Regions from separate parts of the Homo sapiens genome. Here region 2 is linked to region 1. Evidence: promoter capture Hi-C in 16 types of primary human blood cells and fetal thymus (Javierre and others, 2016). All regions are on one chromosome and are shown on one strand. The core of a region is centred on a gene start or on the middle of the fragment in contact, and the rest is flanking DNA. Distances in the headings are between cores, read along the strand shown. Region 1 holds the start of PLEK (pleckstrin). Region 2 has its middle 39 kb from the start of ARHGAP25.

What was found. Contacts are between HindIII fragments. The CHiCAGO score rates a contact against its expected background, and 5 or more counts as called.
Region 2: a contact is called between a fragment that was not itself captured here and the fragment with the promoter of PLEK in region 1, in 1 of 17 cell types (neutrophils). The highest score is 6.3, in neutrophils.

The regions. Positions count from the first base shown.
Region 1 is chr2:68,363,405-68,367,659 of GRCh38, forward strand. It overlaps PLEK (pleckstrin), which reads left to right and starts at 1,878. Exons shown (of 9, transcript NM_002664.3): 1 at 1,878-1,989. The coding sequence starts at 1,948. It overlaps LOC101927723 (a long non-coding RNA gene), which reads right to left and starts at 3,000. Exons shown (of 2, transcript NR_187652.1): 1 at 2,011-3,000. RefSeq lists an enhancer at 1,838-1,917. The HindIII fragment of the contact is 25,233 bases long and covers 1-4,255 here.
Region 2 is chr2:68,693,260-68,697,514 of GRCh38, forward strand. No RefSeq gene overlaps it. Among named protein-coding and RNA genes, the nearest start is that of ARHGAP25, 39 kb to the right of the region's middle. The HindIII fragment of the contact is 3,980 bases long and covers 1-3,974 here.

The DNA.
Region 1 (4,255 bases), core at 628-3,127:
ATCAGCTCTAGGATAACGGAGATTTGCCTTGAAGATGAAGAACAACTAATATTTATGGATACTAGTTATGTTTCAGACACTCTTCTAAATACTTCCATGTCTATCTCATTTAATCTTCAGAATGACCTCATTGGATAGGTGTTATTATCCCCGTATTACAGATGAGAAAACTGAGGCACAAAGTAATAACAAACTTGCTCATTTTCACATGGTCAGATTAACGGGTCTCTAAGTTTATTCTATGGAATATTCGTTTTTCAGGATTATATTGGTTTCCTGGGGCTGCCATAACAAAGTACCACAAACTGGTGGCTTAAAACAATGGAAATTTATTGTCTTACAGTTCTGGAGGCCGTAAGTCTGAAATCAAGGTGTCGTCAGCACCATGTTCTCTATAGCAACTCTAGGAGAGAATTGTTGCGTGCCTCTTCCAGCTTCTGGGGGTTGCTGGCCATCCTTGGCGTTCCTTGGCTTGTAAATGCATCACTCTGTTGTCACATGGCTGTTTTCTGTGTGCCCTTTTCTTATAAGGACACCAGTCACATTGGATTAAGGGCCCACTTGTTTCAGTATGACCTCATCTTAACTAATTATATCTACAATGACCCTATTTCCAAATAAGGATGCATTCTGAAGTGCTAAGGGTTAGGACTTCTTTTTTGGGAGATCTAATTCAATTTATGACAAAAAAAGTTAACATAAATTGTTCAAAAAAGAATGCTATGGCGAAGTAAGTTTGGAAAACACCATTATAGGATTCTTTACTGTAGTACTTTGGCGGGGCGAAGGTCTTTAATTTGTTCATCATTTAGAGGAGTTGCCAACCTGGGATTATTTTGTAAAGTTTCTCAAAAACCTGTTTGATGATGGACTTCTTTTTACAGGCTGACTGTGAGATCAGCACTCAACGTGGAACACCTGTTCTCATGCCTGATGTGAGGCAGTGGCACCCTAGCACATCCCTCCCTGGTTCTTCTGCTTTCCCCTGTGACCTGCAGCGTCAACTTGAGACAACTTTTCTTCTCTGAGCCTGAGTTTCCTTACTCTAAGATAAGGAAAATAATATACTTTCCCTATGGGTTTGATGTGTGGACTCATTTTTGTTGTTGTTTGTTTTGAGATGAAGTCTTTCTCTGTCGCCCAGGCTGGAGTGCAGTGGACCAATCTCGGCTCACTGCAACCTCCGCCTCCCAGGTTCAAGTGATTCTGCTGCCTCAGCCTCCCGAGTAGCTGGGACTACAGGCACACGCCACCATGCCCGGCTAATTTTTGTATTTTTAGTAGAGACAAGGTTTCACCATGTTGGCCAGGCTGGTCTTGAACTCCTGACCCCAGGTGATCCATCTGCCTTGGCCTCCCAAAGTGCTGGGAGTACAGGCGTGAGCTACCATGCCTGGCCGATGTGCAGACTAATTTAGTTTAAAATAAGTAGGCTGAGAAACACTTGATACAGGGCTTGGCATAGAGAGAAGTAGGCATTCATTTAGTAGTTAACTTTGTTATGCTAACCAGATGGTTCTGAATTTCTTGGCATTTTTATTGGGCATTTCCAGGATCTCAAGAATAATCCTTACTCAGGACAATTTTCACCAACAAGTTTTTCTTGTTCATCTTCCTCTTCCTTTCATCACTTCTTTTTCTCTTTAAAAGAGGGATTTTCTGTATGGTAGTAAGAATTTCCCTTAGGTAAATATTCAACCCAACTGTGGTTTTAATAAGTCTCCAGCATTAGCAAGGAATGGGTGGTTTACTCTGCAGTTCCTTATTCTGATCTTCCAACCCAGTGAGGGGAAGAGGATGTGATCATGCGACCGCCAGCAGAAGGGAAATTGTGAAAGCGACCTGCTGTAGAAAAGGCGGCCCACAGCCACCTCAGCATGCAGAGGAGGCCCAGCTGCTGAGAGGAGTTGCCTGAGAGTGACCTTTGCATCTGCCTGTCCAGCCAGCATGGAACCAAAGCGGATCAGAGAGGGCTACCTTGTGAAGAAGGTGAGCGAAGGTGCCACTTACCAGGGTGTCAGTGGACATGGGCTGGGGAGACTTGGGTTCAGCTCCACCGGCTACCTGCTCATCTTAGGAATGTTTCCTGTTCAACCAGTTGGGTTGAAATAGGGGAGCGTGGTAGCACATAGAATGTTGGAGTGGGGTTAGGGGAGTGGGGATACTCATCCAGCCCCGGCTTCCTTACAGTTTGATATTACGGGTCTGAGAATTCCAGATGGCAGGGCCTGGAAGGTGGGGATCTAAGCTAACTCCCTCCAGATTTAGAATATCCTTTTTAAGAGGCACACAGATGTGTTCTGTCAGAAGATATACTCCTCTTCTATGGAGGTTTCTTGGAGGGACTATTCATTTTTTATTTAAATTCCACTTCCCCTCAGTTCTTTTTTTGGGAGGCAAGGGGAAAAAAGTGATTAAAGAGTTGATATAATGATAGAGTAATTACGGCTTATTTCTTGGGCCATCTTCTTGGAATTGACACGTTTAAAAAAAACCTTATCTTTTTTTAATTGGGCTGAAATCTCTTCACTCACAATTCTTAGTAAATTTGCATAATGTGGCATCGAGGTGGTAGATGCACCATTTTAAAGATTAGGGTACTGAAAAAGGCTTAGCCTCCCTGGTGTGCATCATGAAAATTGAATTTTCTTAGTGCTGTTTGTCTTTCTTCGGATGCTGAGTGTGTGCTGTGTGGTTGTGAAAGCTCCCCGGGATGTGAATTCACACATAGGACTTGGTGTCCTGTGGGCAACACCTATATACACAGATATGCTCACACTAACCTTAGTGAGTGGATTGTTTCAGAAATGAGCTGAACGTAGTGCCTTCCTTCAGGTGCTTAGCTTTTTAGTTGAATGAACAGTGAATGTGAGTCTGTTTTAGGCTACTCATTTGTTTCACGTTTTAACCTACAATGTTCTACCTGTAAGGGGGGTTAAATAGCACACATTGCTGCCTGCTTCCATTTTGACTTCAGGCTGGAGGGACCCTAGGTCATCTGGCCTAATTCCTTCATTTGCAGAAGAGGAGACAGACCCAGAAGGCTCGGTGATTGCCCCAAGTCACATGGCTATGACAGTTGTGACCAGCCACTCCTTCTCTGATGCTTAGGTTTCTGATTCATGGCACTGAACTTTGTTCATTACTCCAGCATTTTCTTAAAGCAGATTTATTCCAAGTTAGGATTTGTAGTGTATTTGTGATGGTGAGAGCTATGAGTTGGTACTGGAGAATAAGTGGGCCCTCAGCTGCTAATCTCTGTAGCCAGCTGTGCTTCGAAACATCCTTTGGAAAAGACACACTTATACATAGAAGTGTAAAAGATTACTTGCAATAGGCACCAATAATAATTGGCGAGACCTGGTAATAATTAATATTGACTTATTCCTTTCCTGATCACTTGTGCTAGTATCCTGAGAAGAGCAAGTGAATAGGAACATTTCTGCAAGTTTTTGTTTGTTTTTTTAAACAATTAAAAACATCTTGCAATGAAAATTGCTGTTATAAAGTTTGTATGCTCATATTTTAATCTCCCTAAATTACAAAAATATGAAGACTAAATTTCTAATAAGTGAAGCTGTCTCACTAAAAATTGGGGATGATAGAGTCAGGGTTGTCAAGCATGTGGATTTAAATTAATAAATAGTTTTTAATTAGTGAGAGTAGTTCTCTCAGATTGTAAAAGCCAATCTAGAAAATGTGCCTGGAATTAAATAGTGAAATTTTGTATTGATAGTTTTACAATTTATATCTTCCATAATTTTCATGTTTACAAGTTACATCTTCCATAATTACTGCATTTTTCTCTGGGACCTTTTGAACACTCTGATATAATGCATTAAGATTCTCTTTTTTTTTTTTATTCTTCTAAAACTTTAATTTTAGGTTCAGGAGTATAGGTACAGGCTTGTTATATAGGTAAACTCCTGTGACAGGCGTTTGTTGTACAGATCATTTTGTTACCTAAGTACTATGCCTAGTATCCAATAGTTATTTTTTCTGATCCTCTCCCTTCTCCAACCCTCCACTCTCACATAGCTTCCAGCGTCTCATTTGATATTTTAAAGAAATGTTTGGTCCAGAAATATTCCCTTTTTCAGCTGCAGAACTAAACCTAAAGACAGAGTTTCCTGAGAAGGTATTAAAGTTCTTAACTACTTTAGACATTAAGTTTCCTTCAGTTACCTCACGTGTGGGTTAAAAACTGTATATGTCAAGAATCTGACATATAATTGGTGTACATAAGCTGCATAAG
Region 2 (4,255 bases), core at 735-3,234, 330 kb after region 1:
AGAATCCAAGTATCCCTGAGGGAGATGACTCTGGCAAAAATGCACACTGAGGTATAAAGAACTCATGCCATTCAAAAGCCTTATTCAAAAGTACATGTGGGAGGGCAGCAGGAATCTGAAGTAGAAGAGGAGAAGAGATGCTGGTATGGGAAGGGAGGTGGTGAGAAGGAAGGCATATCTGCAACTGGGCCAATTAAAATGTGCAGCATGTACAGGAGGTGGGAGAATAATCAAATGAATAACAAGTATTAACTTTTCTGTATTGCTAAGTTGTAAACTTAAAGGAGACATTTTAAAAGGATCTTAAATTCTGTTCCTCAATCTCAGTGACATGAGATAATATGCATATTGCTACATCTTTTCTTTTTAATGACCTATAAAAGCAATCAGGTGTGAGAACTTGAAATTTTGTGATCTGTTACAGTATGCGCGTTATGAAGCTCACACTCATTTTCACTTTTAAGTGTCTCTGTTGTTTCTTTAGTTTTCATTTTTAACATTGTACCCATAAAAAATAACATATGTTGTTGTAAAATGCTTTTATTTTCTCTTCAGGTTCATTAAATTACTTCCAAAAAAATGATTTCTTAGTTAAATTGTTTGACCTTTTCTGTTCTTGACATTGGATACATATGGCCCTCCACCATCTCACTGCTCCCGAAGATAAGAACCTATAAATGTCAGTTTGTATGATTAAAATGCAACAATTCCAACTGCACTGTGAATGTTTGAAGCTGCTTTGCATTTTTCTAAGTTCCTCTGGGGGAAAAGCACCTTTGCTAATGAAAAACATATTTTCAATATGGAAATTGCAACTGGAGGCACAGCCTACTGTGAAGAGTTCAGACATATTTGGTTAATTGGTGAACAGATTTGACAGATGGCTATTTGCATTGGGGACAAAGGAGTCTTCTAATTTGTGCTGTGTGTCCCTGTGTGGGATTCAAGCTGTGCACACTGCTGGAGTACAGACATAACTTGATTTTTCTGGTGGGCTGATGGGATGGCCTACTTCACTCCGCTTTGTGAAGTCGTAGCCTGAGGCAAGAGGGAGCCAAGCATGAAGAGTTTGAACCAGTGAAAAGATATATTTCCCAGGGGGATTAGGGATTCAGAGAACATAAAGACTATTCCTTAAATCTTCCCTTAGCTTAGATCCCCACATGTCCATGGGGGAATAAGATTGAAGGGAAAACTGGAAATTCTGTAATACACCAGGATCCAGCAATCCTGCTTTGGGATTCCTCATTCAGCACATAACACAAAATGGAGTGAACCATTCTCAGTCATTCCTCTTCAGAACATTGCACAGATGGGTGCCCTGTGGCTCGCTCACTGTTTGCAGCAGGATAGCCCGGGCAGCAGAGATGGTCAACCCGGATGAGCTGTGCTGGAGCAGAGGCAGGATCTTCTTGGCAATGTGATGGTGACCACAAGTCAGGAAACTGCTGTTGAAATTGCCTTTGCAAACATTGTATCAGTGAGAAAACTATGACAGTGAAATAGATCTGATCTAATCAACCCCCATCTTGCCCTTAACTTCCAAACTTCCCTTGGTCATTCCTGGGCTTGGGCTAACTTTGGGAGAAATTTAGTTTATAGTTCAAATGATAATAGCCCTCCCCAAAACTAAACCACCATAGCAAAACTAATGAAAGACCACCAGGTTAGGAGGATGAGATGAGGCTAAATTCTGCTAAGATATAGGCATAAATGATTACCAGCCATTATTCCATACACAAGATTTGCAGCATCCCTAATTACTCCTGCAGATAACATCATTGTTATAGAACACACTGGCCTTTTGAAATGTCTTTTCAGGGTTTTGTATTTCTGATGACCAGATGGCCCCATCCAAACCAGATACTCTTGACTCAACAGGCCCTGTGGCCCCACCCAGAACCTGACTCAGTGCACAGGGACTGTTTTCCACAATCCTAGGATTGCATCCTCAACCAATCAGCAGCACCCATTTCCCTGCCCACCAAACTATCCTTGAGAAACCATAGCCTCAGAATTTTCAGAGACACTGATTTGAGTAACAAAACTCCAGTCTCCTGTTCAGAAATTAAACTCTTTCTTTTCCGCAATTCCCTCCCCCATCTTGATAACCTGGCTGCATCTGGACAGTGGGCAAGGAGAACCCCACTGGGCAGTTACACTGTGTGCAGTGGAGATTTGAAGGAAGACACAGCTAATGGCAGTGTCTATGGAACTATACAGATACCATGAGAGTGAAACTTCCCTATGTACACAGCCCACGAATACTACCTGCTCTTACCTGCTCACACTGTTACTCCAGAAATACCTAGACTAGAGTAACAGTGTAGGCAGGTAAGAGCCAGGCTATTTGTTTTTTATATACAATTTAACTGAAATTAATATTAGAATAGCTTAAAGCTAAAATATGAAGATACAGGATATTAGAAGTATGAATACATTCAGAATATTGGTTACTGAGTTTTATTTTTAGGTAGCAGGTCACCTTGATTGAGGTCATTAGGGAGTGCAGAATCCAATAACAGTAAAACATCAATGTAAAAGTTTTGCTTCTGTTTAGAATATAGAAAACAGAAAGGGAATGTCACTCTACTAACAGGACAAAGAGCCAGATAATCTATGGAATTCTTGAGTCCATCAAGATCTAAGGTTGTAAAATGATTAGGTGACATGAATTTGAAAGGGTTACAGGCCCCAGTGAGGAGAGATAAGACATACAAATTGGGTTTTAGCATGGCGAGAGCATGGAAGGAAGTGGTAGGAACCTTGAAGGCAAATAAAAAGAAAACTAAAATTTTAAGGAATTCTTAATGGCCAAAGGGTTCCTACCACTTCCTTCCACTTAGCATGAATGAATACATACTCTTTTGTGCCTGGGCTCCCAGAATACTAAACTGTCATGCTAGGAGTCATGCAGCTAGAGGCCACAAGATTCTGAACCTCGCCAATTGCTCCTAAGGATAATATAACTATTGTAAAACCTAACATTGGCGTTCGAGATATTTTTCAGACCCCACATTCTGATGCATTAGCTGGTTCCACCCAGACTGGTTATCTGGCTTAGTCAGTTCTGTGATACCACTTAGGAACCCACTTTGACCAGACAGCCAGAAGAAACCACTTTGACCCCCTACAATTTAATCTTTGACCTGGCTAATCAGCACTCTCCATTCCCTGGTCTCCTAAACACCAAATTATTATTTTAAAAATTCCAGTCTCCAAATTTTTGAGGAGACTGATTTGAGTAATAAAACTCTGGTCTCCCATTCTGCTGGCTCTGCATGAATTAAACTCCTTTGCTATTGCAATTCTCCTGTCTTGATAAGTTGGCTGTATCTGGGCAGTAGGCAAGAAGAACCCATTTTGAGGCTAGAGAAAGAATGGGGGCTAGATTCTGCTAAAACAGGTTATGAGAGGTGGGGGAAGAGACTTGGCTAGCAAAGGTGGCCTTGTTATGTAGATGAAGGCTGTCTCAGAGAGAATAGCTGGTAAACGGAGTCAGACTCTCAATCTCTGCTGGATACAGGGAAAGAAATAGAAAGGGAAGGGGCGTGGCTGCATTAACAGAGATTCTTTACAGATGTAAAACTTCCCCACTTGAGACAGCTTTGCAAGGCCACTTCTGTCAGCCAAGTGGCAGCCATTTCAAAATAAGTCAAAGAAATATATTTTGGGGTAAAATATTTAATTTCCCTCAATATTCATACAAATATAGAGTCAATTCTCATTATTCATGGTAATTATGCTCTATAAAGTCACTCTAAACACTGAATTAGTGAATTAAAGAACCATCGGTCCTAGAGAAAATATAGAGTTAGGTTCCTATGAGTCTTTGGCTATAACATGTTTGTCAACTGATCAATATATAACCTTGTTTTATATATGTTTCTATTTAAAGGCATCTTATTTAATATATATTGTTGATTTTAACATTGAATTCATGGTCAATAGCACTGTAACTCATGCTCAAACAAAGCTTATTTAACATATATTTTCTCCACAAGGCACATTACCATAACCACCCAGTGGGTCCTTGCCTGCTGCCTAGACAGAGCTGATTTATCAATATAGGCGAATTGCAATAAAGAAAGTATTTAATTCACACAGAGTCAGCTGTACGGAAAACTGGAGTTTTATTATTACTCAAACAAGTCTCCCTGAAAACTTGGAAATAGGGGTTTTTAAGAATAATTTGGTGGGTAGGGGGTCAGAAAGGGGAGAGTGCTGATTGGTTGGGTCAGAGATGAAACCATAT